Regions from separate parts of the Homo sapiens genome. Here regions 1, 3, 4, 5 and 6 are each linked to region 2. The links are contacts of gene promoters, found by promoter capture Hi-C in blood cells and fetal thymus (Javierre and others, 2016). All regions are on one chromosome and are shown on one strand. The core of a region is centred on a gene start or on the middle of the fragment in contact, and the rest is flanking DNA. Distances in the headings are between cores, read along the strand shown. Region 1 overlaps LOC153910 (a long non-coding RNA gene). Region 2 holds the start of ADAT2 (adenosine deaminase tRNA specific 2). Region 3 has its middle 160 kb from the start of ADGRG6. Region 4 has its middle 270 kb from the start of HIVEP2. Region 5 has its middle 180 kb from the start of ADGRG6. Region 6 overlaps HIVEP2 (HIVEP zinc finger 2).

Region 1 (4,248 bases), core at 928-3,427, 880 kb before region 2:
ATTCAACTATAGTGAGAACAGATACCAGAACATTTTCTGTTGCCGTTGCTGCTAGTCATTATGCCTCTTGGACATTTTGCATAATAGGTCAACTTTCCATGGATGTGTGTTTTGTTTGTTTGTTTGTTTTGTCCTATTTTTATGAAAATGATCATTGTGGAGAGAGACGGGTTATACCTCTGTACCTGTAAGTTGCTCTTTCCAATTTATCCACCAGACTCCGTGTGCTTGCTAAGCCCATCTCCCGCTAGGACCCGTATTAAACGATTAACCACCCTGGGTTTCCTAATAATGGGGAACACAAATTGATCTCTCAGCTGTTTTAACCTAAGATCCAAATACCCACGCTGACTCCAAGGTTTTTGACTTCCTATAAATCCAGGCAACTTTTTTTCCTGGATGTTCTCCACAGCCTTGGAAACTAGAATTCAGCTGGAATGGTTTCTACATAAGTGAATAAAAGTCTGTGAGGTGAACACTAAACTCCCAGTCACCTGGCTCTCCCTGTGTCACAAGGTCTTCTCGCAGAACAAACATTCCTGATCCAACTATTGACAGGAGTACAAGGCTCTCTTCGTTTCCCTTGGCTCCCCAAATCTCCATTAATCATTTCCTCACTGAGACCATTTGCTGAAATGCTCTGTAGCTTCAAAGTTGAATCTATTCTTGCTTCTTAATAGGCCATCTTATTATCTGGCTTTCTTTTCAAAAGCTCTTTATGTTCCTTCTTCTCAAAATCATTTGCACTTTGCCAAATGATACTATTTTGAATAACAGTAAGAGCATTCTAGAAGTAAATTGTGATCTAAAACTGGCTTCATCAAAATAAAACAGATTAAAAACTGTAAATGGGCCTAATTCAAAGGGACCTGAGCCAAGGAGGAGAGGCAAAAGTCAGCTAAACTTCTAGACTGAATTTAAGGAGGACCACCTGCTTCAGTATCACTTGGATTACTGGTTAAAAATGCAAAGTTCTGCACCCAATATCTAACTTTCTAAATCTCTAGCAGTCATCTAGACATGTGCATTTTAAACACCCTCTTCGGGGCAGTGATGCACATTGAAGTTTGAGAGCCTCTGCCCCATAAATAAAATAAACCTATTTTATTTATATGGCCTTTTTCTCAGCCGGATACATCTCCTCACCTTGGAGGCCAAAAACAAGACTTTGAACACTTGTTAGCCTAATACTGCTCCATGACCACAGACTGTGTCCTAGCTGTTCAGAAATCCTATTCAAAAGCCACAAGGGGGACCAAGCAAGAGGGTATGGATGATACATTAACTCAAATCCATCTCTACTATTGAAACGACCATGCCGGAAATATCCCTTCCTGATCATAAGGCACTGGTATCATGAGAAATATCACATCAGTGGATATGCAGGTCAGCATTGCACTATGTGTATAGGGGAGTCTAGAGAGCACCTCTTTCCATTCTTGTAGATTCCAACCAAATTATTCCTCCCTGTAAATTTCTCTGTTCCCAGCATCATTTCAATCTCTTCCCACATCATTATTTTATCCTTAGATACCTGATTTAGATTCATGTATCTATCACTAAATACAGTAGAGGTGCTCTTGAAGAAGTTTATGAAAAGATGGGTTTTTGTGCTTTGTTTTTTGGGAGGTTTTTACTTTCTTTGTATAAATCAAATCAAATTGTTGAATATGTCTTTGCTCATGATTCTATGAAATTTTGAGTTCATAAAGAAAATAAAATTTATCACCAGCAGATAACCTGCATAGCACACAGGACTTTGTTGAAGGGTATTTATTCAGTACAGCCCAGTGAGAGGACTCTTGGTCAGTGGAACTATAAATGCGTTATCCACAGGCAAGGCTATTCCTCTTTCAGTTGAAGGACTCTTTATGAGATCATCTGAATTCCTTTTTAAATTAAGCTCCATGCTCACCAAAGAAACATTCTGATTATGATCTTGCTCCTTACATAACTTAGCAACAGGGAGGAAATGCTGTGAGTTTGCCTCCTGCCTTCTGGAGAAACCTTTTATCTTCATTTCTAGCCAACCACATTATAGTCTTCCTTTGGTTCAGAAAATCTTCCATGGTTTCTTTAATAAAAGTAACATGTAACACTAAATAAAACTTACTTTTTCTGAGCTATGGCTTTAGTTCTCTTTTCTGAGAGTCTGCTTCTGACTCATCAATGGGTATGAATTAGAGTGGCAGAGGGAAAGAGCTAAAGACTGATCAAACCTCCAACCTTACATTTCCCTGAAATTCACAGAAGATGCATAATGAGCTATCACCTTACATATTTTTCACAACTGCTTTTACTCAGAAGTACCAAAATGCAAAGAACTCCTTCTTTCTTACAGGCTGCAGAGCCTCAGAGACCAAATAAACTGTGAGCATTTGAATGACAACTGAAACCTCTTGTGTGCATTTTTATTTATCTAACTCAAGATTTGCTAGAGTTCAAGCAACTATTTAAAGTTCAAAAACCTATGATTAATGTTTAAGTTGCTGATGAGATATTTTTCAGATCCTGATCATTGCTGAGCAATGGCATAACATTAAATGCTGGAGCAGCAAGATTTTACTTTCCAAAGGACTGAGCTTACAGAACATGAGAGGGAGGCAGGAAGAGGGAAAGGGTGGAGGAGTCTGAGGCAGCTGAATGATAAGCAAAGAACTCTTTTGTTCTTTTCACACTACGGAATCAAAGCCATTTCAGTTCACTTCCCACACCTGAGATGTTTGTCACTAAGCCATTTCCTTCTCTCTGAAGTGGGTTTAGACAGTCATTTTGCTGTTGTGAAATTCACATCCCTCTTTTCCCAAACCACATCCATGCCTTTCTCAGTTCACCCTCCCCAGAAACACCTACTCTCAGGCAGGATTGGCAGTTTGCAAGTTTAGAGTCTCATAGAAGAGATAGATGACAAATAAAGCTAGAAAAAAAAACTCTTTTCAAGGAAATTGTAAGACCTCTTGAAATACAAAACCTATTTTTCCAGGTTTCTGATTTTAGCCAGTATGAAGATCAATGGAAGCAAACTGCATTACAATAAATGTTGTCAGTCCCACTGATATTCCTTGAAACTGTATGTTCATGGAAGCCCACAGTCTGGCCTTGTTTCAGTGGGATGCTTACCTGAAGTTCACCTCACTACATTCCAGTTACTGAAGCACATGACAAGTTGTGACTTGTGCATAGTTTTCCCCTGAGTTTTGAAAAGTAGAAAGCTGTTATTTAGCTTTGTGGTTTGTTGGGGTTTAAATTTCTGTTGCTATTGCAGCTGTCTTAGCAGTGCAAATCCCAAAGCAAAGAATGATGTGAAAAATTTTGCTCATTTTGAAAGTGTTAGAGAATTTTTTTTAACTTTGACTCCTTGAATTCTCCAGGAAATGATGTCAATCAGTTTAAACAAACAGCACTTTCCACAGAGCTCCCAGGCAAAGTCACATGGTGTTCTGTGTGCTTGGAGCTCACCAGGTTGGTATTATGAGAGGGGACAAGTCAATTGGTAAGTTATAGCAAGGAGGAAAGTTTGAAAAACTTGGAGGATGGATGAGTTCCTGAGTGATTACCTAATTCATTCTCTTGACCACAAACAGTTCTATTGATGAACCTTTCCCAAGAGATGGCTTTCTATTGTGTTTTCAAATATTTTTAGAGGGGAAGCTCTGCTCTGCAGGTTAGATAAAATGGGTAAACTGTCAACTCTAAGGTGGGCTGTAAGTAGGACTAAAGACATCTGCTTCTTGTCTGTGGCAAAATCCTAGATTTGGATAGATCAAATTTGGATAGATCACATGCAAGAATATATAAACAAACAAACCTTTAGAGAAACAACACTGAACTAGAAGGGAATGTAAACCTATTTCCAAAGATTCTGAGAAAAATCTTGTATTTGAAAAATAACTTTAAATCAGAAAGAAAAAATTTATGATGACATTTTCTTAATGTCATTAAAGGAAGCAGGACTACATGGCAACTATGAAAAAAGAGCATAAAATTACAGGGAGAAAATTCATTAAGATGAAGACAGAGATAAAGAAAGAAGCATTCTTAAATTTAAAATGTAAAAAGTTCTGTAATCATACAGAATTGAAATGAATATGTGAATTGGAGGCATTAATGAATAGAATTGACAATGCATAAAATGAATTGGTCCTGTGGAATAGTAACTTAAATATCTCCCAGAGCGTCAAGTAAAACATAAAAGAGTTCAAATTGCCAAGAGTGAAGATGATTGATGATCAACATGGGTAGCCAAGG
Region 2 (4,385 bases), core at 1,043-3,542:
ATTTAAAAAAAGTAAATTAAACTTAAAACTTTCAACTTTGGCTTAACTAGAGTTAACTTTATCAGCATATTAAATAAAAACTGTAATATACATGTTACATACAAAAAAAAAGGGTTTTCTAAATTCAGCTCCTCCCAACCAACAAACACCTCAAACATGCACACCCTTATTATCACCAAGCATTAAAATTGCTTTCACTTTTGCCAATTTAACAGGTAAAAAATTGTGTATCATTTTAATTTGAATTTCATTAATAGTGAAATTGTGTATTCATTTATTTGCTGGCTACTCACTCGTCACTTCTTTTAGAAATATCATGTTCAGGTGAGGTGTGGTAACTCACACCTGTAATCCCAGCACTTTGGGAGGCTGAGGTGGGACAACTGCCCGGGCCCAGGAGTTCAAGACCAGCTCGGGCAACACAGAGAGACCCTGTCTAAACCAAAAAAAAATCTTCTAAAAATAAAAAGAAATTTTAAAAAGAAATATATTCATAGCCTTTGACCTTTTTCAGTATTAGGGTATACATCTTTCCTTTTACGTCGGAAAGTACTTAGATTTTATATAAATTATATGCTACGGTTATTAAACCTGTCCTTTTATATATGTCGCAAATATTTTCCTTCTTTGTATTTCCTTTACTTTGTATCTTTTTCTTTTTTGAGACAGGGTCTGGCTCTGTCTCCCAGGTTGGAGTACAGTGGCACAGACACGGCTCACTGCGACCTCAATCTCCCAAGGCTCAAGCAATCCACCTTCCTCAGCCTCCTGAGTAGTTGGGACTACAGGCACATGCCACCATGCCCTACTAATTTTTAAATTTTTATTTAGTAGTGACGGGGTCTGGCTAAGTTGCCCAGGCTGTTCTTCAACTTTTGAGATCAAGAGATCCTCTTGCTTCTGCCTTCCAAAGTTTTGGGATTACAGGCATGAGCCACTGCATCTGGCCATGCTACTTTGTATCTTTTTAAACATGTAGATGTTTTCAAAGAATTTCTAGACCTCTCTGGCTTTGACATTTTTTGTCTCTTAATTGTATTATAAACACCTAGGGATGTGATTCCATAGTTTACGTCCTCCTACACAGGATTAAGGAGGCAGCTGCTTCTTGGGTTTTAGCATATACAAGTTTCTTCAAGGTCTTAAAGGAAAAAAAGTACTTGTTAGGAGGGCTACATGTCACTGGGCAACAGGAACTTTTCAGCTTCATTATAATCCTATAGCACCACCGCTGTATATGTGGTCCTATAAGATTATAATGGAGCTGAAAAGTGCTAGCGAGCTTCTTAACTGGGATAAAAGTTTGTTTGTAAACGTATGTAAATGTATTTACATGTGCTAGCCCAGGGTCAACCTAAAAGGTAGCGAAAGTGTTTAGCCCAGAAGTCTACATAGAAACTAGGGTTGTCTACCTCCATACCACCCTGAATGTCCCCCGATCTCGGAAGCTAAGCAGGGTCAGGCCTGGTTAGTACTTGGATGGGACAATAGGGCTAAGGTGAGTAGATTTAATGCTCCAGGATAACGACCTTTACCGACAGGTCATTGTGTGGCACGTGGCTGTATGTAGTTATTAAAATGTAAATACATATATTTACAAACAAACTTTTTTTCCCAGTTAAGAAGCTCGCTAGCACACAGCATTCTGTTGAAAGCCCCCTTTATTTCGCAGTCCTGAAGGGAGTGAGGGAAGGAAGTAAAAGGGCAGAGGAAATAATGAATGAATGCGAGACGCCGATTGTACAGGGACTTGTTTCCATACTGCTCTCTACCAGAAACGTTCTCAGTTTCCTTCCTTCTGCTGGACATGTTCCAAGGGCCAAAACCTCAAATAATGTGACTTTGTAGATTGGAGAGTGTGTGACCACAGAAAGGAAAGGGAGGCAGCACGTGCCAGCCGGCGACAGAATGTTAAGTCTGCAGCATACTCCACCGCAATGAAACAAATAATTTGTGTATTTCCTCCCCTTCCTTCGCCCAGAGCCACTGTGAGAATGGGCTACAGAAAGTTTCGAGGCAGTAAAGCCAGTTGTTCACCCAGAACATCTGACTGCCATAAAAATTATGGTGACGAGAAAGAACGTTTGCTCAAATGCCGGGGTCGGGTTGAGGGCTGGAGAAAGGTCCCACCCCGCAGCATCTACCTCCCGGGCTCCTCACCATGTGCATCGCCTCCTCCATCCACTTTTCGGTCTCCTCTGCCGACACCGAGCACGCGCCGCTTGCAGCTGGCTTGGGTGCCGCCTTCGCCTCCATACCCAGCCACCACTCAGCTACAGAGCCCGCGGCAGAGGAGGAGCGCGGGCAGCGGAACGCGGCGGGCCCGGGACCCCGTTTCCGGGGGTAGTCTAATGAAAAGGCACTCGGGAGCTATTTCTGAACGGACCTGGGCTTGTCGGACCAGTGAGCGGCGGCGGCTGCGCGGCGGCAGCGGCAGAAAGCGTAGCTGCTTTGCTGTAGTCCACGCCCCCTTGCCGCTCCGGTGACAGTCTCTGCGGAAAGTCACGTTTGTGATTTCGGGAGAGCACAGAACGGGACGACGGCGCTCTTGCTGGGTCATCTGGGCCAGGTGACGAAGAAACAGTTTCCTGGTGAAGCAGTCCCTCACCCCTAGTCAGCCCACACCCCTAGGGCCTAAAGATGCTGAGGTCTGTATGGAATTTTCTGAAACGCCACAAAAAGAAATGCATCTTCCTGGGCACGGTCCTTGGAGGTGGGTGACAACGTGCTTGAAAGGGGGCATTGGGAGAAGGGGGTGGGAGAGGTGACTTCTTCTAAAATAAGGACAGGCCGGGCGATCCTAGTCTGGGATATGTAGAGGGAGTTCGATCAACCATGGGATGAAAAGGGAGGTGGCCAACCTCCAGGGTTCTCCCATCTCTGCAGTTGAGAAATGCCTCTGTGCCCTTTGCCCTGTCACCGACTCTTAACTCTGTTTCTCACCTATCCTTTTTTCTCACGGACCTTTGGAGAACTCATCACAGTTTAAGTTTCTGTTTCAAGGCACCATTCTCTTACAGGAACTTTTTAAAAAAAATTCTGCTTTCCTGTGAGATTCTGCATTTCTCCTTGGCACTCTTGATACTTTGGCTCTCACCCTTCTCAGGAGTTTAATAATAATCTAGGGAAGTTACCTATAGGCTGCACTTCGGGTGGTGGTTAAAGTCGATTTGAATTTTTGAAAACAGCGCAGTTGTCCTAAAGGACTGAAAGATATGGATTAGATAAAGAAAAACAAATCAATATTTTAGCTCTGTTTCTGCCATTTTAGAATACAAACTATGGCAGTAAGAAAAATGCTTGAGGGATGTTGTGCAATCTTCCTCAGGATCTTCAAGGTTGGGATCATTGTAATCTAGCTGACATAACTGAGTTGCACAGGCCCAGAGGAGATTTAGAAACAGATAAGATAAAAATCTTGAGACGCTTTTCCCTCATACAATGCTCATGTGATAATATTCAGGGATTTGAAGGAGGGAATAAAAGTTTTGTGAATTATATGAAAAGGACATCTAGGAACTATAAAAGAGGAAATTTGTTAGAACTTGAGTTTTTGAGAAATAGTCTCATCACTTATTACATGCTATGTTTACAAAAGTACTTAAAATCAAGAACAGAGTTTCCCAAAGAATTTGGTTGGCTTTTCTCTTAGTATTAGATTGTATTCTGTTCTCCCCAAACAATTTGAAATTAACAGTACGTATTAGATTGTATTCTGTTCTCCCCAAACAATTTGCAATTAATACCTTTAGCATCAATAGTTCAGATTTTGGTGATGCTTGAAAGTTTGAAACAGAGTTCTTGTTGCTGAGCCAAGGATGGTGTTTTGCATGTCTCTGAGGTCTATCACACATCAATAATAAGCATATGTAAATTTTGAACACCTTCGAGAAATCCTTTATATATAAAAGGTATTTTCTGATATCTTCAGTCGCTAGTATCTAATGTATATTTAAATTATCCTAAGACTACAGAGTCCATTTTATTTATAAAAGCTAAAAATATATGTGTGATTGAAGAAATACAAATAAAGTATTTTTGCGTTTACTGAAGGAAGGAAAATTATCTCTTTAGCGATCTCAGAAGGAATACTCCTTCAGCTTATGGAACAACTTTGTAGTAGATTAGAAATAATCACAGGGGAAGCAAAAGAGTATACTTAAACTTATAATTTTTTTAAAAAACTAACAAGAGCTTTATAGTTACAGAATAAGAGGAATGCAAAAAATAGAAAAGTTCAGACGGCCAGAAAGAGAAAATAATCCTAGTGTTTTATATCAAAAAAGGAGTCAGTCTGAAAAGAAAGGAAGAGTAGATGACCGTGGTTGGCATTTGTTTGAGTCTCATGTTCTTTCTGCTTCAGGGAGAAAGTTCTACAGTGTGTT
Region 3 (4,464 bases), core at 1,485-3,984, 990 kb before region 2:
TTTCTTGATTTAACTCACCACCATTACAACTGCCATCACTGATTCACCAAAAATTGAGTAAATAATTATCTTGTGTTCATTAGTCTTTCTTAAATATATGTATAGCTCACACTTAGTTCAATGTTTAATATTAGAAATATTTTGTCTTTATTTAGAAGTTTGGGAATGTTTTGTGACCGTAAATGTTGCCATAGGAACTTAACTCTTGGTTGTATCACTTAGCCTGTGGTAAAATTGGTTTTGTTATATGTCATTTTGCTTAAAGTTGCAGTTTCCAGAAACCTATCCATGATGTTAAGTGAAGATTTACTACATACATATATATATACACACACACACACACACATATATATATCATTACTTGTAAGTATTACATATATATAACATTACATATCTATGATGTTAAGTGAAGACATAGTACACATATAAAACATTACTTGTAAGTATTACATTTATATAACGCTATATATATATATATATATATATATATACATACACACACACACACATGCACACTTACTACTTATATTACCTAACATTATTGTATTAGTCAGGGTTTTCCAGAGAAACAAAACCAGCAGGCTGTGTGTGTGTACACATAGAAAGATTTATTTTAGGGAATTGTCTCATGTGATTGCATAGGCTTGGCAAATCCAAAATGTATGGAGTAGGCCAGCAGGCTGGAGACCCGGGGAGAGTTGCATTTCAATTCCAAAGGCAGTCTGCTGGCAGAATTGCTTATTGCTTGGGGAGGGCAGTCTTTTCTATTTAGGCCATTGGCGATTGGAAGAAGCCCACCCACATTATAGAGGGTAATCTGCTTTACTCAGAGGCCACAGATGTAAATGTTAATCTCATCCAAAAAGCTCCTTCACACAGACATCCAGAATAATGTTTGACTGAATATCTGGCCACTATGGCTCAGCCAAGTTGACATATAACATTCACTATCACAATTATATAACATTAATAGGCACTATGTGCAAGACACTTTTTGCGGGATGGAGTGACATTAACCACTTCATCTATCCCTTCCCATTCTTGGCCCTACATAAAGAGAGAATACTTTGGAAAGCAAATACTTTAGTACCTTCTGTGGTTTAAAAGGAGTAGTGCTGACTCATATCTTTAGAAACTGTCTCTAAAAAGGCTAGAAGTTTGGAGAGTATCTTGTAGCTAGCATAATGGAAACAGAAGGAGATCACATGGCTTTGTCATCAACTCAGCTCCCAGCTTCTCTGGGCTATTTTCTTTCTAGTACCTTTCCATTATTTTAGTTACAAGATACTCTCCAAACTTCTAGGAAAATTATTCCAAAATATCATTAATTTTAAATACATTAATAACATTGATGGTTCTTTCTGTCTCCTAGTGCAATTTCCTTACATCAATGGATGATAGTATGATGTGGAAACAGCAAAGGATTTTCTTTTAAGAAAAATGTCTGGACTGACAACTGTCACTTACTAGGAAGTATCTTAATCTTTCCAAACCTCAGTTTTCTCAACTGTAGAATGGGAATAAAGTTGGTAATGTCCATAGCTACCTCACTTGACTGTAAAGAACAACTGAGATAAATATGTGGCAGTATTTGAAAAATGATAAAGCATCGTGGCCTTGGTTGTTATTCTCACTTTCTATTAAGTTCAGTTATAGAACCTTGGGCCCCACTCAAGGGCCCAGTTTTCTTAGCATGGGTGTGGAAATTGTGACTACTAAAAAACAGGCAACTTTTATGTCTACAGGAGATTACTAACTTATTATATAGGAATTTGACCTTCATCTTGGTAGAGGGGATTTCATCCTGGTGGATCTGCAGCCCTACCTGGAATATGCTGAGCTTCATATTGTCAACTTCAGGCAAATGCTTTTCTCCTCCAGTACAGCCATTCTTCTCTGCATTCATTGGAACACTCAGAACATTATTAGATGTACCTTCTGTCTTATCTGGATGAACTAAAAACAGAAATGGGTAGTTTTATAGTTTTATAATATTTTATAATAATTGTATAATAATAGGCTTTGTTGCTTTTGACAAAAAGAACTATCTGTGATGCAAGCAACAATCTTGTGCCCTTAAAGCCCATGTCCTCAAATACTAAAGTAAACCTAAAATCTTAGCAGTGTTCTTTAGGTGTTGCAAAGTGTTAGTAGGAAAAATCCTAACTGTGCAATGTCTCCAAAGTTTGTGGAGTTTTTTCCTTTAAGGATATTGTTTCTAGCTTAGCTGAAGTTCTCCATCTCTATGGGGATTTCCTTTCACCCACTACTAGTCTTTAAGAACATTTCAATTTTACTGCTATCAACTGCAATTTCGTACTTTGATAAGATTCATTACTGTACCCCATCCTGATCTCTTTTCAAAATATTGATCAACTAGATTACTAAAATAATCAAAATAATAGTGGAAAAGCTTTCTGTTTATCCTTCACATATATTTCTATTAGTTGGTAAAATCACCCACATCCCCACTAAGTCCTGTACCAAGCATAAATACCACATAGTATAACAAGTACTAAGAATTTTTGAAACTTAATGTTACTGTTTTATCAACCTGAATGGAAAACTATTTTGCATTTTTTTCTTTTCTTTTTGTACTTCTGAATTTGTGAAGTCATATCTTCAACAATTCATTCAACCAACTTTTATTGAGAATACCATATTGTATGTGCCTCAAATCATCATACACAGAGCAACTTGATGAGTTTTCCTAAATCTAAGCTCTGGCTGTATCACCCCAAAGCCCCATCATTGCCTATTGAATTAAGTCAGATTCCTTTCCTAGAATTCAAGGGCCTCCATAATGCATCGATACCATGATCCAACTGAGCTGTCTTCCCACATATGTCCTGCCATTTTCTCTGTCTTGGAATGTTCTCTCTCTTGGTATCTTTTTTTTCCAGTGGTGCCCATTTGAAATGCCTCCTTTTCCATGAAGTCTGTCCTGTCACCAAATAAATGTCATTTCTCCATTTATAATAGATCCTTAGCCTGTTTTTATTCCCCCTGTACCATAGTCATCTTTGAGCTTTCCTAGTCTACTCTGTGAAAACTGTAAGCTTCTATAAAGCAGGAGCTCTGTCTCAACCATATCACTCATTCAGGCACATTTCAGAAGCATACAGTATTTCTTAGAGGATGACAGCAGGGAACCCAGAAATATTTTTTAAGTTCTTTTGAGTCCTTGTATTTTCAAGGTTAACACAATTCCATTTTAGTAAAAAGCCTCTGTAATCTCAATATATATGAGTAGATTGTTTTTTCTGGTAGGGATAGAGGGAAATAATGCAATGTCAATGTGGCACTAGGTAACACATTAATTATGAGTGAAGTGATTCTATGATACAAATCCACTGCATGAAAGCAACAGTTGGAGCTGTAAAGAGACAGGTCATTTCTAGGTTGGGGAATGGTCAGGATGGGTGTATTAGTCCATTCTTGTGCTGCTAATAAAGACAGACCTGAGAAATCATGGCAGAAGGGGAAGAAAACATGTCCTTCTTCACATGGCAGTAGGAGAGAGAAGAATGAGAGCCAAGTGAAGGTGGAAGCCCCTTATAAAACCATTAGGTTTCATGATAACTTACTCTCTATCACAAGAATAACATAGGGGAAACTACCCCTATGATTCAATTAACTGCCACTGGGTTCCTCCCACAATACATGGGGATTATGGGAACTACAGTTCAAGATGAGATTCGGGTACAGACACAGCCAAACCATATCATTCCACTTCTGGCCTCTCCCAAATCTCATGTCCTCATATTTCAAAACACAATTATGCCTTTCCAATAGTCCTCCAAAGTCTCAATTCATTCAAGCATTTACCCAGAAGGCCAAGTCCAAGGTCTCATCTGAGACAAAGCAAGTCCCTTCCACCTATGAGCCTGTAAGATCAAAAGCAAGTTAGTTATTTGTTGATACTATGGGGGTAGAGGAATTGGGTAAACACACCCAATGGGAGAAATTGGCCAAAACAAAGGGCCACAGGCCCTATGTGAGGCCAAAATCCAATAGGAGAGTCATTAAACCTTAAAGTTCCAAAATTATCTCCTTTGACTCCATATCTCACATCCAGGGCACACTGATGCAAGAGTTCGGCTCCCACAGCTTTGGAAAGCTCTGCCCCCTGTGGCTTTGCAGGGTATAGCCCTCCTCCTGGCTGCTTTCATGGGCTGGCATTGAGTGTCTACAGCTTTTCTGGGCAAGCGGTGTAAGCTGTCAGTGGATCTACCATACCAGGATCTGGAGGACAGTGGCCCTCTTCTCACAGCTCCACCAGACAGTGCCCCAAAAGGGACACTGTGTGGGGGCTCTGACCCCACATTTCCATTCTGCACTGCCCTAGCAGAGGCTCTCCATGAGGGCTCAGCCCCTGCAGCAAACTCCTGCCTGGACATCCAGGTGTTTCCATACATCCTCTGAAATATAGGTGGAGATTCCCAAACCTCAATTCTTGACTTC
Region 4 (4,462 bases), core at 670-3,169, 780 kb before region 2:
GCAAGCTCTCTTGCCCGCCACCACGTAAAAAGTGCCTTTGCTCTTCCTTAGTCTCCTCTGCCACGATTGTGAGACCTCTCCAGTCACATGGGACTGTGAGCCCATTAAACCTCTTTCCTTGATAAATTACCCAGTTTGGGGTATGTCTTTATTAGTAGCATGAGAACAGACTAATATGACAATCTTGAGTGAGTTTTTAAACTGTTCTGTTCCTCAGCGTTTTTTCTTTTTTTTAATCTCTTAAATGGAAGTAATAATCATACTTATTTGAAAGGGTTGCTTGATGGATTAAATGAGTGAGTTCACACAAACCACCTAGGATAGTATCTGGTCCTGAGTAAGCTGTCAATACTTGTACCTTATTAATCTTCATCAATTCATCTATTGACCACAGCTTGACCTCTTACTCTATTTGGCACTGCTCCATTTCACATACCCCAGCCGTGGTGCTCAACCTGCACCATCTCAGTTTCAAGACTCTGCCCATATTCCTCTCTCAAGCTGAGTGGCAGAGTCTGTTAATTGTTCCTGGTATCTTTTCTCTGCCTCTTTCCCCTGAGTTTTAGCTGATCCCCAGTCACTCAGCCAAAGACTACCTTTCCCAGGCTTCCTTGCAGCTAAGTGTGGCCCTGAAACTAGGTTCTGGCCAATGGGAGCTGAGATAAGTTGAAGTGTACAATTTTCAGATCATGCTATTATAGAAGAAGAAGTATGCCCTCCATTCTGCTGGCAGAAGTGTGAGCATACCACAAGATGGAAGCCACGTGTGAAGGCAACAGAGCAAGAAGACAGGATGAGCCTGGGTCCCTTGAGACTTCCCAGGGCAGAGCCACCCACATTTAAACAAGCATGGCAGGTTAGCTTTACTTTCTCTTATGGATTATCCTTTTCTACTTGGCACCTTTGCTCTTTATGGTCTATTATAACCTATATCAGAGACAAGGATGTCTAAAAAGAGGATCAATTCCAGGTCTCTAAGAACTTATGGTTTTCAAAGATCTTAAAGTGAAAAAAATGACAAGTTGATTACTCCACATTCTACTGTAAATAAATTACAGAGGCTGGCTATTTCCCCCCTTCCTTGCTTGTCTTTGGGTTTGAGAAAAACTGATTTATCATCACTTACCTCTTTTTCTTGCTAATCGGTACAATTTTTAAATATTGAGACACCTTGGCTAAATCATAAATGTTTTGTTAACATGCATTCATTGTAAAAACTTGCCTTGACTCATCTATGATTGTTCCAAAGATTTATATGACCAATTCATGTCTGTTTCTCCACAGAATGATCTTCTCTCGCTTCTGAATATCTGTCAGCACACATCTGTGCCTGTGTGTACAAAAACTTCACCTCATGAGAGCCCCAGATTTGACAGAATCAAGTTTGCCTCATTTTTCAAACAGTGTTAACTCAGTTTAAAAATACTTTTCTCATTATGTTATTGCAAGGGTCTTTTATTCCATCTCATGCTTTCGTCTATTTTGGATCTAACATTTATTTAATTAGAAATCTATTATTGGGGAGGGGGCACAAATAAAATTTAGCTACCACTAACCACCCCCTGTCAAATGGTGGTACATTAAAGAAAAGAAGGAAGGTATTACTTTCTTCAGATAACATAAGACAAACATTTAAAATTCGGTCCACTTGGAAAATGCTTTCTCCACATCTTCTTTTATGTGGAGGGTGATTTCCTTTTTAGTGGGTTACACAATGCAAATGAGGCACAGTTCATTTATATCCAAGTCCAGGGAAATGAATTTATAGGCACTCCAGAGGAAAAGTTCCATGGAGATATTCAAGCTTTCTTACTTTCAGACTATCGGAAGCTCTGCAATATATGTCTTTCCCTAGATATCTTAAGGGCACCCAATAAAGCCAGTTTTGCCTGAGAAAAGCCATTTACACCCCTGCTTTCCATGGAAGACTAATTGGAATCGCTGTTACCATTTTAAATCTCTTCAACGGGTTAGGGTGTTGTTATCAGTATAACTCAATCAACCAACATATACTTAATGATTTCCAGTTAGAAGAAAGCTTCTTCCTTCTACAAAACATACAAGGAAAAACACTATTTCTGCCCTGAAGTAGTTGCCAGTCTAATTGCAAAAACTTGTGAGGGTCTCTGGCTTTTCAAGACCCATTAAAAAGACAAAGTCATGTCCTGCAGTGCCCCATAAATGGGTCTACACTCTCCTTTGGCAGTTCCAGTCCATCTTGTGTGTCATCGTATTGCCTAAGTTTGAATAAGCCTTTTAATCTTCAGTAAATTAAATTCTTAGCAGGGGCTTATAAATCCTGTTGTTCTCAATGCCTAACCCAGTGCCTGATCCACAGAATACATTCATGAATAAATAAAGGAGTGGATGAGTTGGAAGCAGAAAGTAAAACAGTGGTTACCAGAGATTGAGTAGGGGAGGCAGGAGGGGAGGATGGAGAAAATTTGGTCAACAAGTACATAGTTAAAACTAGATAGAAGAAATAAGTTCTGATGTTCCATTGCACAGTGGCGTGACCACAGTTAACAGTAAGGTATTGTATATTACCAAATAGCTAGAAGAGAGGCGTTTAAATGTCCTCACCACAAAGAAATGATAAGTGCATGAGGTGATGGTTATACCCGATTTGATCATTATACAATATATATGTATCAAACATCAAATTGTATCCCATAATATGTATAATTATAACATGTCAATTTTAAAAAAAAGCAAATGAGTAAATTTTTAATACAGTCAATGTAGGTTACAAAACTATTTAATTCATCTTCAGGTCTACACCCAGGACATTCTGGCACAATAATTTCTATTTATGCCCAAGAGGCACTAAAGATCCCTTGATTCCATTTATCTATTCAAATTTTCAACAAATATTTATTGAGAGTTCAGTATCTGTGCAATATTTTCTTAGGTGCTGGGAATACGATGGGAGTAAGCCAAGAATTTGCCCTAAGGAAGCTTATATTTTAGGGAGAAAATGACGAGGAAAGAATCTCTCTATAGCAAAAAAGCAGCCAGCCAGGGAAGGAATACTACACCACATCAGCTTGGGCTTACAGGTAAATAAATGGGACTTGTCTATTAAGATTTATTAAATTCAACAACAAAGTGGCTTTGATCTCACAAGTGAATAAACCAAAACGAATTACTCCTTGAAAAGTAGAAATGAAAAATTATTACATTTCTCCTTCCTAATTGGTACATCCATAAGGGAAACATTTAAAAAAAAAAAAAAAACTAAGATAAAAATCAAAAATGTGCCCCAGGAAGAACTATCTGAACTATATTTGCATGAAATTGTATTCTGTGCTTAAAGCCAATGTTTCCCTAATTTATGTGTTATCCCTCCTTAATTCCTCCTGTCTCCTTTAACAGTCTTTTACAAATGCATTGACTTCTTCACTAAAATTCTCATGAGGGCAAAAACACAGACAAGATGCCCAATTGTAAAAACTTACTTACGTCTTATATAATCTACTGAATAAAATACTGTTAATGAAAAACATCAAAGTGATGCATTTAACCCATGTGGAAGTTAACACCACTTAGCTTCCCTCTTCCTCCCCCGTAATAACAGAAAAATGAATGACTGAGGTAGGCATTAGTGATAGAGGAGGTGGACATATCTTTCTTTCTAAAATTTAAATTTCTAATTTTCTCTTTTTGAATAATAATCAGCCAGGTGCCTTTGATCACCAAGGGTAGGTAAAGACAGAAAGTTGAAATACATTCTTCATGAAGTAGCAAAATCATTTTTAAAGTAGGAACTTTGAACTTAAAATATTACTGTTTATTGTTCATCATACACTTTATGTCTCTTGCTAAATAATAAATTAGACTACATAGAGCTTCCTCCATATATTTATGTCTGCTGAAAATATTTGGCTAAATTCATTTTGGAAATACTTCACTTCCATGAAATATTGACATGGCAAAGACCATGTCAGAAACTTTGCCATTTTTCTGTGGAAAATAATACACGTGTCAGCCATACATTATTCCTTCCCACACTTTAATGCTTAATGATTAAACATTTGAAAAGTACTATTTCTAAATATTCTTCCAGACTACCTGTCCAACACAGAGTTAGCTATTCCAGTGCAAAGTCCTGGCTCCCAGACAACTAAGGGACCTTCGGAAAGGGGTAGAAAATGGCGGCTTCTCACCGGAGCCCTAAAACTGAGTAAACTCTAGGAAGCAGAAAAAGTGTAGAAGGGGAAGGAGAAGGAAAGGGAAGGAGTCTGGCATCTGTGATGGAGCTGGCCAGGTGTCTACAAACTCATTTCTCCTTCTGAGCTCAGGAATAAGCCACATTTGCCACCCATGCCTGGCAGTTAGCAGTGGCCATGAGACTGAGTTCTGGGCTGTGCGGAACGTGGGCACAAGTGGTGCTCACCACTTCAGGCCTCACCCGTAAAACTCCCTGCACAAACCTGCACATGCTCTGCCTCTCCCAGGGCCA
Region 5 (4,138 bases), core at 178-2,677, 970 kb before region 2:
TATCACATGGTAGCTTGATTTTTAATGTTTTTAGGAACCTCCATACTGTTTCTCGTAATGACCAAGCTAATTTACATGCTGAACAACACACCACACTATTATGAAATAATGGAGACAAACTAGATAACCGACAGTAGAAAAGTATTTTTAATCCATTGAGATCCAACCATATAAAGAAATATTACGCAAATATTAAAATACTTCAATGAAGAATATTTATTGAGACAACGATCATAATATAATGTTAAATATCAAAACCAAAACTATATATATAAATTTTATATATACATATATATACACACACACATTCAGTTTTGTTGGGATTTACTAATAAACTTTGAAATTAAGTTTTTTTGGCGTGTATATATATATTTTTGTGTATGTGTATATACATATATATATATATACACACACACACACAGAAAAACTTTATATATATATATATATATATATATGTATCTCACTGGTGCCTATAAGTTTTTTTGTGGAGAGAGATATATATATATATATCACTGGTGCCTATAAATTTTTTTGTGGTGATATATATATTTTGTTTGTGTGTGTGTGTGTATATATATATACATATACATATTTACAAAGTTTATTAGTTGCAACAGTTAAAATAGTATCTTTACAGTGAAGAAATCTGAAAGACAACACCTTAATCAAGCAATTATAGTTAATATCACCGGTAATGGGATAGAATTCCATTATGTGCCTCCTAACATGATGCACTGAGAAAGATGGAATATTTTGTGATATTCCTGCCAGAAATGCAAAGCTTGAGTCTAATTATGAGGAAATATTAGACTAACCTAAGTCGAAGGACATTTTACAAAATAAATGGTCTGTACTCTTCAAACGTGTCATGGCCAAAAAAGTAAGTCTGAGGAAGTTTCTACATTAAAGGAAACTAAGGAAGCATGACAATTAAATACAAAGTGTAATCCTGGATTGGATTCCAGGCCAGAAACATGAATACATACATATGTACATACCAACATACTCATATACACATACATGCTTATAATTTATTTTTGTTATAAATGGTATTATTGGGACAGTTGGCCATGTTTGAATAAGGCCTATGGATTAGATAATATTTCTGTGCCAGTGTTAATTTGATTTTGATGCCATGTTATGGTTATATAAAATAATGCCCTTGTGTTTAGGAAATTAACTGAAGTAGACTGAAGTATTTATGCATAATTGTTCATAATGTCTGCAATTTACAACTTATTCTCAAATAGTTTTTTAAAAATTGCCTATCTTTGTGATATAATAAGAAATGTATATTTGGTCTTCACCCCAGGTTCCTGGCACAAAACTTCTAACACTCTTGTATCTTCCTGAATAATAGGACTGCTAGGAGCATCATTTGTTGTAATAGTCTTTCTTAGTTCCTCCTTGGTTCCTGACAGAAGAGCTTCTAAGACTTTGGAACCTCTGGAGTGATAAGAGTATCTTTTTTTTTTTCTAGACAGAGTCTCGCTCTGTTGCCCATGCTGGAGTGCAATGGCGCAATGTCGGCTCACTGCAACCTCTGCCTCCCAGGGTCAAGCGATTCTGGTGCTTCAGCCTCCCAAGTAGCTGGTATTACAGGTGCCCACCACTACATCCAGCTACTTTTTTGTATTTTTAGTAGAGACAAGGTTTCGCCATGTTGGCCAGGCTGGTCTGGAACTCTTGACGTCAGGTAATCCTCCTGCCTCAGCCTCCCAAAGTGCTGGGATTACAGGTGTGAGCCACCATGCCTGGCCAAGAGTATCTTTTTGTATGTTGATGAGATGACTGGTGGCCAAAAGCCCCTAGATATCTCCACAATGAAGGCTGTTGCCAGAGGAACCAACCATGTGATTAGAGAATTGAGACTTTCAGCCCCATTCCCACCCACAACCTCTGGGGAGGAGAGGGAGGCTGGAGATTGAGTTCAATCACCAATGGCCAGTGACTTAATTAATCATGCCTGCATGATGGAGTCTGCAGAAAAGTCCTAAATGAAGTGGTTTGGAGAACTTCTGAGACAGTGAATATACAGAGGTGCTAGGAGGGTGGCCCGCCCAGAGAGGGCATGAAAGCTTCATGCTCCTTCCCCCATACCTTGCCCTCCATACCTCTTCATCTGGCTGTTCATTTGTATCCTTTATAATAAACCAATCAAAGTAAATGAAGTGTTTCCCTGGGTTCTGTAAGTCATTGTAGCAAATTATTGAACCTAAGAAGGGGGTCATGGAAACCCCTAGTTTATAACCAGCCAGTCAGAAGTACAGGTGGAAACCCGGGACTTGTGATTGGCATCTAAAGTGGGAGCGGTCTTGTGGGACTGAGCTCTTTAACTTGCAGGATGTTAAACTAACTCCAGGTGGATAGTGTCAGAGTTGAAATGACCTGTGAGTCACTACTCAGCTGGTATCCACAGAGAAGTGAAGAAGTGCCGAGTGTAGAAAATTCACACGTTTGGTGTCAGAGGTGTTGTGCCTATCCAGGAAAACAAGTTTTCCTTGTTAATCTCTATTTTTATCTACCAAGCTATTATCTATACAGAAGAAAGTAAGACAGATTAAATGATAAAACAAATGTGGTAAGATGTTGATAGTTCTGAATTTGGGTTAAAAGTATACAAAAAGACTTTATACTATTTTTGCACTTGTCTACAAGACTAAAATTGTTGTAAAATATCATGCTATAATATGTAGAACATAGGTTTGAGAGTGGCCAATGGAAAATATTACGATTCAGTGCTCACACATCAATATTATTTCATGGCAAATTATATTTACCTTCGCAGGATGAAGCACAGTAAATTCATAGAAAGGCATAATAGTTTTGTACCCCACCCGCATATACATATAGTAAAAAAGAGCTGCAAGTCGTAGGAACATGTTAACCGTGTTTATCTATAAGCTGCATATTTTCCGGTGTTATTCATTTTCTTCTTTAAACTTTTTCATCTTTCCAAGTTTTTATAATGAGAGCTTAATATTCTTATTATTGAATTCCTGGCTTTCTTCTTTTCTACAGTTTCAGAAAAGAAAGAAGCAAAGGGGGAAAAAGAAGAGAGAGAGAGAGAGATGAGCCCTAATAGAGTTCATGGCTGTCTGTGAGCCATTGAATGCACCTGAATGGGGAAGTTCTTGAGGTTGCATAATATCAGCTGATGCTTACAAACTGTTACTTCAAGGTCAATCATGACGTGGCTGTCTCCAAGGGAATACAGCTGTTCAATACTCCAGGCTTGCTAACTTGGGGACCATTGGATCTTGCTTGGTGACTAAACCCTAGTTCTGTTCATACCACCACAAAGACAGAACCTCACCTCCAAAGGCATGAAGTGGTAAGACCAACACACCAAGACAGAATGATGCCACTGCCACCTGGAGCACAATACAGTGAAGCATGTATGCAGAATTAATACTGGCACAATGCTGGACAAGTGACAGACAAATTAGTGCAAGCTTCTGTAATGATTATGCTATTTAATTAGTGGATACCTGACCAGTGTTAAAATCTGGAAGAGTACCAAATACCACAAAGTTTACAATTTCCTTTTCTGGGAACATTTTCTCTATTAAATGGCATCAATGACAAGCTAAAATACAGCCCTTTATCGATCAGCTATTTCACTTCTCTTTTCCTGAAAGGGTTACTCAAAGGCACATAAAGAGGTTTCTTCCTCCATGCCTTGTCTCCAACTCCTGTAGACAGATTTACACCCCACACCTGGTGCTGCTAAGCACATTACAGTGCCTCATGTTCCTATTAACAAAACCGTGTGTGAGGGTGGGAGTAAATTTGGGAGAGGGAATGTCACACAGTTTAATTACTTAGTAGGGGGGAATAACTCAAAGTACAGTACTCTGGTGTAAAGGGATCTTCATGATGCATGGTTGCGAAATGTCTGGACTCATTAAGTGCTGAGCTTTCCAAGGCTTGCCATTGTGTAAGACACCTGTTCTGAATATGTTTATAGAGAGGGTGTGAGGTGGGCATTACATCGTGGGGTCATGCTGCTTTCTGTTTCTACTTCCCTTCAAACTGCATTTTACTCATTCGTTCTTTGGCCATTTGGGGCCATGGCTTCAGGATCAAATACGTTGTAGAGATATAAAGATTATTCTTCCCATGATAGCTCACAGAA
Region 6 (4,734 bases), core at 312-2,811, 560 kb before region 2:
TAATTAAAAAAAATTACATCCTTACATCTCCTCATTGTTTAATAGTGACATTTTTTCATTTAGTAAATAAGATTGCTTCCAAAATATTTCATGGGCTTATGCTCATTGAAGTCATTATCTTCATTGTTTTCCCACCCTGCAATGCACCTGCAAGAGTGCATGCACACACATACATATTCAACCTTTCCCTCATGCCTGATCTCCTTTGATGAGGTCAAACATTCAAAGAACCCAAGGTATATTCAAGAGAGTCATCCTTAACTCCTCCTTAAACCTCAGCTCCCATGTCTAATCACCAAGCCATGACAATTTTACCAAGTTACCTCTCTTCCTTGTCTGTCTTCTCTCTAATTCCACTGTCGTGACCTTAGTTTTACCCTTTAACCCAGTGCTTCTTTCAGGGAAATAAAATAACTATCCTCAGTTCTCCCTCTTCTCCCAAACTATGCTCTACATGACCAAAAATGAGTTGTAGAAAACATAACTCTGACTATACTGCTCATTCCATCAAAACCCTTCAATGGCTCCTAGTTGTATCATACAAAGTCTTGTATCAGAGATTACACTATCATAATTTTTCATTTATGTGTTCGAACTTTCTATTTGATTTTGAGCTCCTTAAGGTCAGAGACTATGTTATACTTATTACTGCATCTCCAGCTCTCAGCAGAGTACCTGGCACTTTTGTTGAACTAAAGTGGACTGAATGACAGGACACTGCATTGACATTTTAAACTCCTGATGTGGCCATGCATGGTGGCTCACATCTGTAATTCCAGCATTTTGAGAGACTGGCAGGAGGATCTCTTGAGTCCAGGAGATGGAGACCAGCCTGGGCAACAAAGCAAGACCCTGTCTCTACAAAATATTAGCTGGGTGTGGTGGCATGCACCTGTAGCCCTAGCTACTTGGGAAGCAGAGGCGGTAAGATCACTTAAGGAATTTGAGATTATAGTGAGCTGTGATGATGCCACTGCACCCCAGCCGGAGCAACAGAGCAAGTCCCTGTCTCAAAATAAACAAACAAAGAAACAAATAAACAAAACTCCTGATGTGGTCTAACTAGACTAGATAAAAAGAAGGTATGGCAGAGCAATTCTCTCTGAAATCAAAGAAAACTGAATTCAACAATAGTCTTATCAAATCTTAGGCAATTACATAACCTCTCTGAACCTTAGGTTCCCAAGATACAAAATGGTGTTATGGCAAATGGAATAACATACACTGTGTGCCTCCTACAATAGCTGGCACCTATTGAGAAGGTGCTCAATAAATGGCAGCTATTATTATGTTTAGTGATTTCTGCTGTGCAATTATACATACATTTATCAGACATCAAAATGACCTATTTTGGTGCTGTCCACTAGACAGGTATCTATATATCTATACTGTCTAACACTGTAGCCGCTGGCCATAAATGGCTCTTGACACTTGAAATGTGGCTAGTATAACTGAGAAACTGATTTTTCAATTTTAATTAATTTAAATTTAGATAACCTCATGAGTCTGGGTGGCTACAGCACTGGACAGCACAGACCAAATTAGCCCTGACATCAATGGAGCACCCTTTAAGTGTCTATCATTTCCCCTTTCCCCAAAATCAGTCTTGTTTACAAGGATTCAAGTGCCAGTGTTAATTAGGGTCTATCTATGTCTTCATTTTTGTTAATTCAACATTGCCTGCTCTGTTAAAGAAATCAGACCTAAATGCCTATATTTTTCACTCCCTTTGCAAATTAGCTCTAACACTAGTAGAAGGGGCTCTACATCAGTAAAACAATCCATTCTATTTAAGAAATTTATCCATGAAAGTGTGAGAAGATCAGATAACAGAGTTCCATAGAGAATCTTCCTCAAATAAGCTCCTCCAAAACTTTGTATCTTTACAAAGTTAACGCAATTCAGCTTTTATTGCGTGTACTTCTTCACATATTCGTGCACTTGCTCTGCATTCCTTCTAACACTCTAAATTCATTGAAGGTAGAAACGATCTTGCTTCATTTCCCTGTACACATTTTGAAAGAATTACTGCCAAAGAAATGAATGAAGAATACAGTCCACAGAATGGAATCCCCAGCACAACACAGAGAGATGGATCAGAGTGGCAAGTGCACAGGATCTGGACCAAAAGAGCTTGCTTCAAATCTCAGCTCTGCCATTAACATTCTATGAGGTTTGGAAAAATCACCTGACCTCCTATCTGTCAAATAATGATAATACTAACTGCAACTCCTAAATATCCTATTAATATAATAATCTAATGAGATAAATCAGACATATAAATATTAGTGCAAATAGTGTAACTGAGAAAGTAATACAAAAAACACTTAAATCTCTATCTTGTATATTACTACAGAAAATAATGTCCCATAAATATGAAAAACACCAGGTATCTGTCTTGACAATCTGTATAAATGTCTAGAGGGAAAGATCAATTTTAAAATAATTATAAGGATGATTACACTTCCATTTGTAAACTGTAATATTAGTCATTACCGGTGGTGTAGTTTTTATCTGACATCAAGGTCATAGAATGCTGAAATATGCTTTTGTATATATGGCCTGTTCTCCTTAATTATACCTGTGCTGTAAAGATAGGGTCTGCAGTTTTCAAAAGTATTTGGTAAAAATAGTTCACTTTTGTTGTTTGCTTTTCAGTTCACAAAGCACTTTCACTTACATGCTTAAAGTTCTCTTCGGGACAACTCCAAGATAGGTTGAGGATTTTAGTATTTCCACTTTGCAGAAAAGTAAACTAATAACAACATCAGTAAGTAAAACCATCAGATTAATAACTCGAAGTCTAGAACTCCTGTTCTTGTACTCAAGGAATTTCCTACTGTTTCTCATTTCCAAAGGAGAACCCAGATTGTGTTCATGTATTCCCACATCAAGAATTTTAGCAAAATACTAGGTATTACACTGTACATCTATCTCATCATACATATGTATGTTTATATATAATTTAATATTAATATTAATATATAATTTAATAATTTTAAAAAGTGTTCTCACCCACACTCACTTAGCAGATCCTTACAGATAGGGTATGCCAGGTAGGACAATCACCATTTATAGATAAGGAAACTGGGTTTTGGAAAGATCTCAACTCTTGACTGTGTCTTTGCAGGGTTATGGAGATGAATGATCTGTGCACCTGGGCTATGGATCGAGATCTACTATCACCCAGTTGAGTAACTTCAAATAAGTCACCCAACCTCCCTGGGCCTTGCCCTCCTGTGTAAAATGAGAGACTTTGAGTCACTCACAGATACCACCTAGCTTTTAAAACTCTTATTCTGCAATTCAGCTAATTCGGCAACATCGCTGAGACACGGCCCCCGATGGTCTAAGTCCTTGCTGGTTCTTTGTCCTCTCTCAAACACTGTAATCCCTCTTAACAATATCTGTTTCTCCACAATCGAAAAACTGGACTTCATTAAGGAGTTCATTCTGTTTGTTTGTTTATCTTTATAGAGCCTTAGGCCCTGTTTATGTCCCATTTATTCTTTGATCTTTTAGCTATGTCCAGCCAGTAAAAACATTCCCTAGAAGAAAGGCTAGCTGACACATGCAGGCACAGGGGTCCCAGGGAAAGGGGTGTGCCCTCACCTGGCCTGGCCTCACTGCGCTGCCTACTGCACTTTCACTTTGGGGATAGGAGATGCTTGTCTGTGTTGATGGGTTTTGATATCTTTTACATTTTTATTTTTTAAAGAAATAGTACAAAACCCAAGGGTGATAGGAAAGACAGGCTCTTGCACCCAGGTCCAGGAACAGGGTCACAACAGATTTTAAACAATTTAAGTGGCCCAACTAAGAACATTTCCACCATAAAGAAGGGGCAAGTCCAAAAGAAGTCATGTCTAAGGGCACCTGGCTAAAAGTAGGGACTCATGTGCACAAATCCACACATACCCTCTGCTGGCATGGATAAAGCTCTTCCTACATCCCGGCGGAGGTGCCAGAGAAATAAGCAACCTGACCCCCCAAGAGTCTTTGGAGCCTGGCAGTAACCTGAGCTGCTCTAGGTTATTTTTGCTGATGGCTAGTGGTTCTTAAAGGGACTGTGTTCTAAGTACACATGTCCAGACACAGGATGCAAATTAATGATAAGACAGAAGTGATTGGTCTATCTTCATTAAACAAAGTCTATAAATGCTTATAATAGATAAACGAGAAGACATGTGAGCAAATATTTTAATGACCTTTCAAAGGGATCAATCATATATCCTGTGATATAACATCAATGGCTTAATACAAGGCAATACTGAATAACACACAATTCTGTTGGTGTAAAATGTGAAGACAGCAGGCATTCCCCCAAGGCTCTGTCCTTAGTGCAAGCCTCCTACGTAAGGGAATGGGGAGTCAAGATTACAGATGGAAATGACTTCCAGGACTGAGCTCTACAGTTATCATCCCACTTAAATGCTCGCTACAACTCTCAGAAGTATAATCATTCCATCGTACCAAAAAGGAAAGTGGAGCTCGGCGAGGCTTCGTAACATAGAGCAAAAGTTACATGACGGATGGGTGCAAGCCCCTTCCAATAATGTCTATGGGAAAGGTGAAGATTCCGAAAGCAAATATCCCACTCAATAAATCATTCTCATGAAACAATTAGTCCTTTCATTCTCTATCCCACATCCCTATATTGGCCAGGCAGGAACTGGAAAGTGGGACCTGGAGTCACAAACACCCAGGTTTGTAAACCTTTTCCACCACAAACTT

What was found. Contacts are between HindIII fragments. The CHiCAGO score rates a contact against its expected background, and 5 or more counts as called.
Region 1: a contact is called between a fragment that was not itself captured here and the fragment with the promoter of ADAT2 in region 2, in 1 of 17 cell types (naive CD4 T cells). The highest score is 5.0, in naive CD4 T cells.
Region 3: a contact is called between a fragment that was not itself captured here and the fragment with the promoter of ADAT2 in region 2, in 1 of 17 cell types (activated CD4 T cells). The highest score is 5.2, in activated CD4 T cells.
Region 4: a contact is called between a fragment that was not itself captured here and the fragment with the promoter of ADAT2 in region 2, in 3 of 17 cell types (total B cells, naive B cells and M0 macrophages). The highest score is 14.5, in total B cells.
Region 5: a fragment that was not itself captured here is called in contact with the fragment with the promoter of ADAT2 in region 2 in 3 of 17 cell types (naive CD4 T cells, endothelial precursors and activated CD4 T cells); the score reaches 6.1 in naive CD4 T cells.
Region 6: a contact is called between a fragment that was not itself captured here and the fragment with the promoter of ADAT2 in region 2, in 1 of 17 cell types (megakaryocytes). The highest score is 5.8, in megakaryocytes.

Annotation. Positions count from the first base shown.
Region 1 is chr6:142,567,156-142,571,403 of GRCh38, forward strand. All of the region lies in intron 1 of LOC153910 (a long non-coding RNA gene), which reads right to left. Among named protein-coding and RNA genes, the nearest start is that of ADGRG6, 270 kb to the left of the region's middle. The HindIII fragment of the contact is 9,498 bases long and covers 1-4,248 here.
Region 2 is chr6:143,448,403-143,452,787 of GRCh38, forward strand. It overlaps ADAT2 (adenosine deaminase tRNA specific 2), which reads right to left and starts at 2,293. Exons shown (of 6, transcript NM_182503.3): 1 at 2,161-2,293. The coding sequence starts at 2,256. It overlaps PEX3 (peroxisomal biogenesis factor 3), which reads left to right and starts at 2,403. Exons shown (of 12, transcript NM_003630.3): 1 at 2,403-2,713. The coding sequence starts at 2,641. It also overlaps the pseudogene RNA5SP221. RefSeq lists enhancers at 1,299-2,281, 2,084-2,243 and silencers at 1,324-1,403, 1,464-1,543. The HindIII fragment of the contact is 8,229 bases long and covers 1-4,385 here.
Region 3 is chr6:142,458,326-142,462,789 of GRCh38, forward strand. No RefSeq gene overlaps it. Among named protein-coding and RNA genes, the nearest start is that of ADGRG6, 160 kb to the left of the region's middle. The HindIII fragment of the contact is 646 bases long and covers 2,412-3,057 here.
Region 4 is chr6:142,671,283-142,675,744 of GRCh38, forward strand. No RefSeq gene overlaps it. Among named protein-coding and RNA genes, the nearest start is that of HIVEP2, 270 kb to the right of the region's middle. RefSeq lists enhancers at 496-1,695, 640-879. The HindIII fragment of the contact is 234 bases long and covers 1,803-2,036 here.
Region 5 is chr6:142,479,272-142,483,409 of GRCh38, forward strand. No RefSeq gene overlaps it. Among named protein-coding and RNA genes, the nearest start is that of ADGRG6, 180 kb to the left of the region's middle. The HindIII fragment of the contact is 1,297 bases long and covers 780-2,076 here.
Region 6 is chr6:142,888,446-142,893,179 of GRCh38, forward strand. All of the region lies in intron 1 of HIVEP2 (HIVEP zinc finger 2), which reads right to left. Among named protein-coding and RNA genes, the nearest start is that of HIVEP2, 54 kb to the right of the region's middle. The HindIII fragment of the contact is 7,933 bases long and covers 1-4,734 here.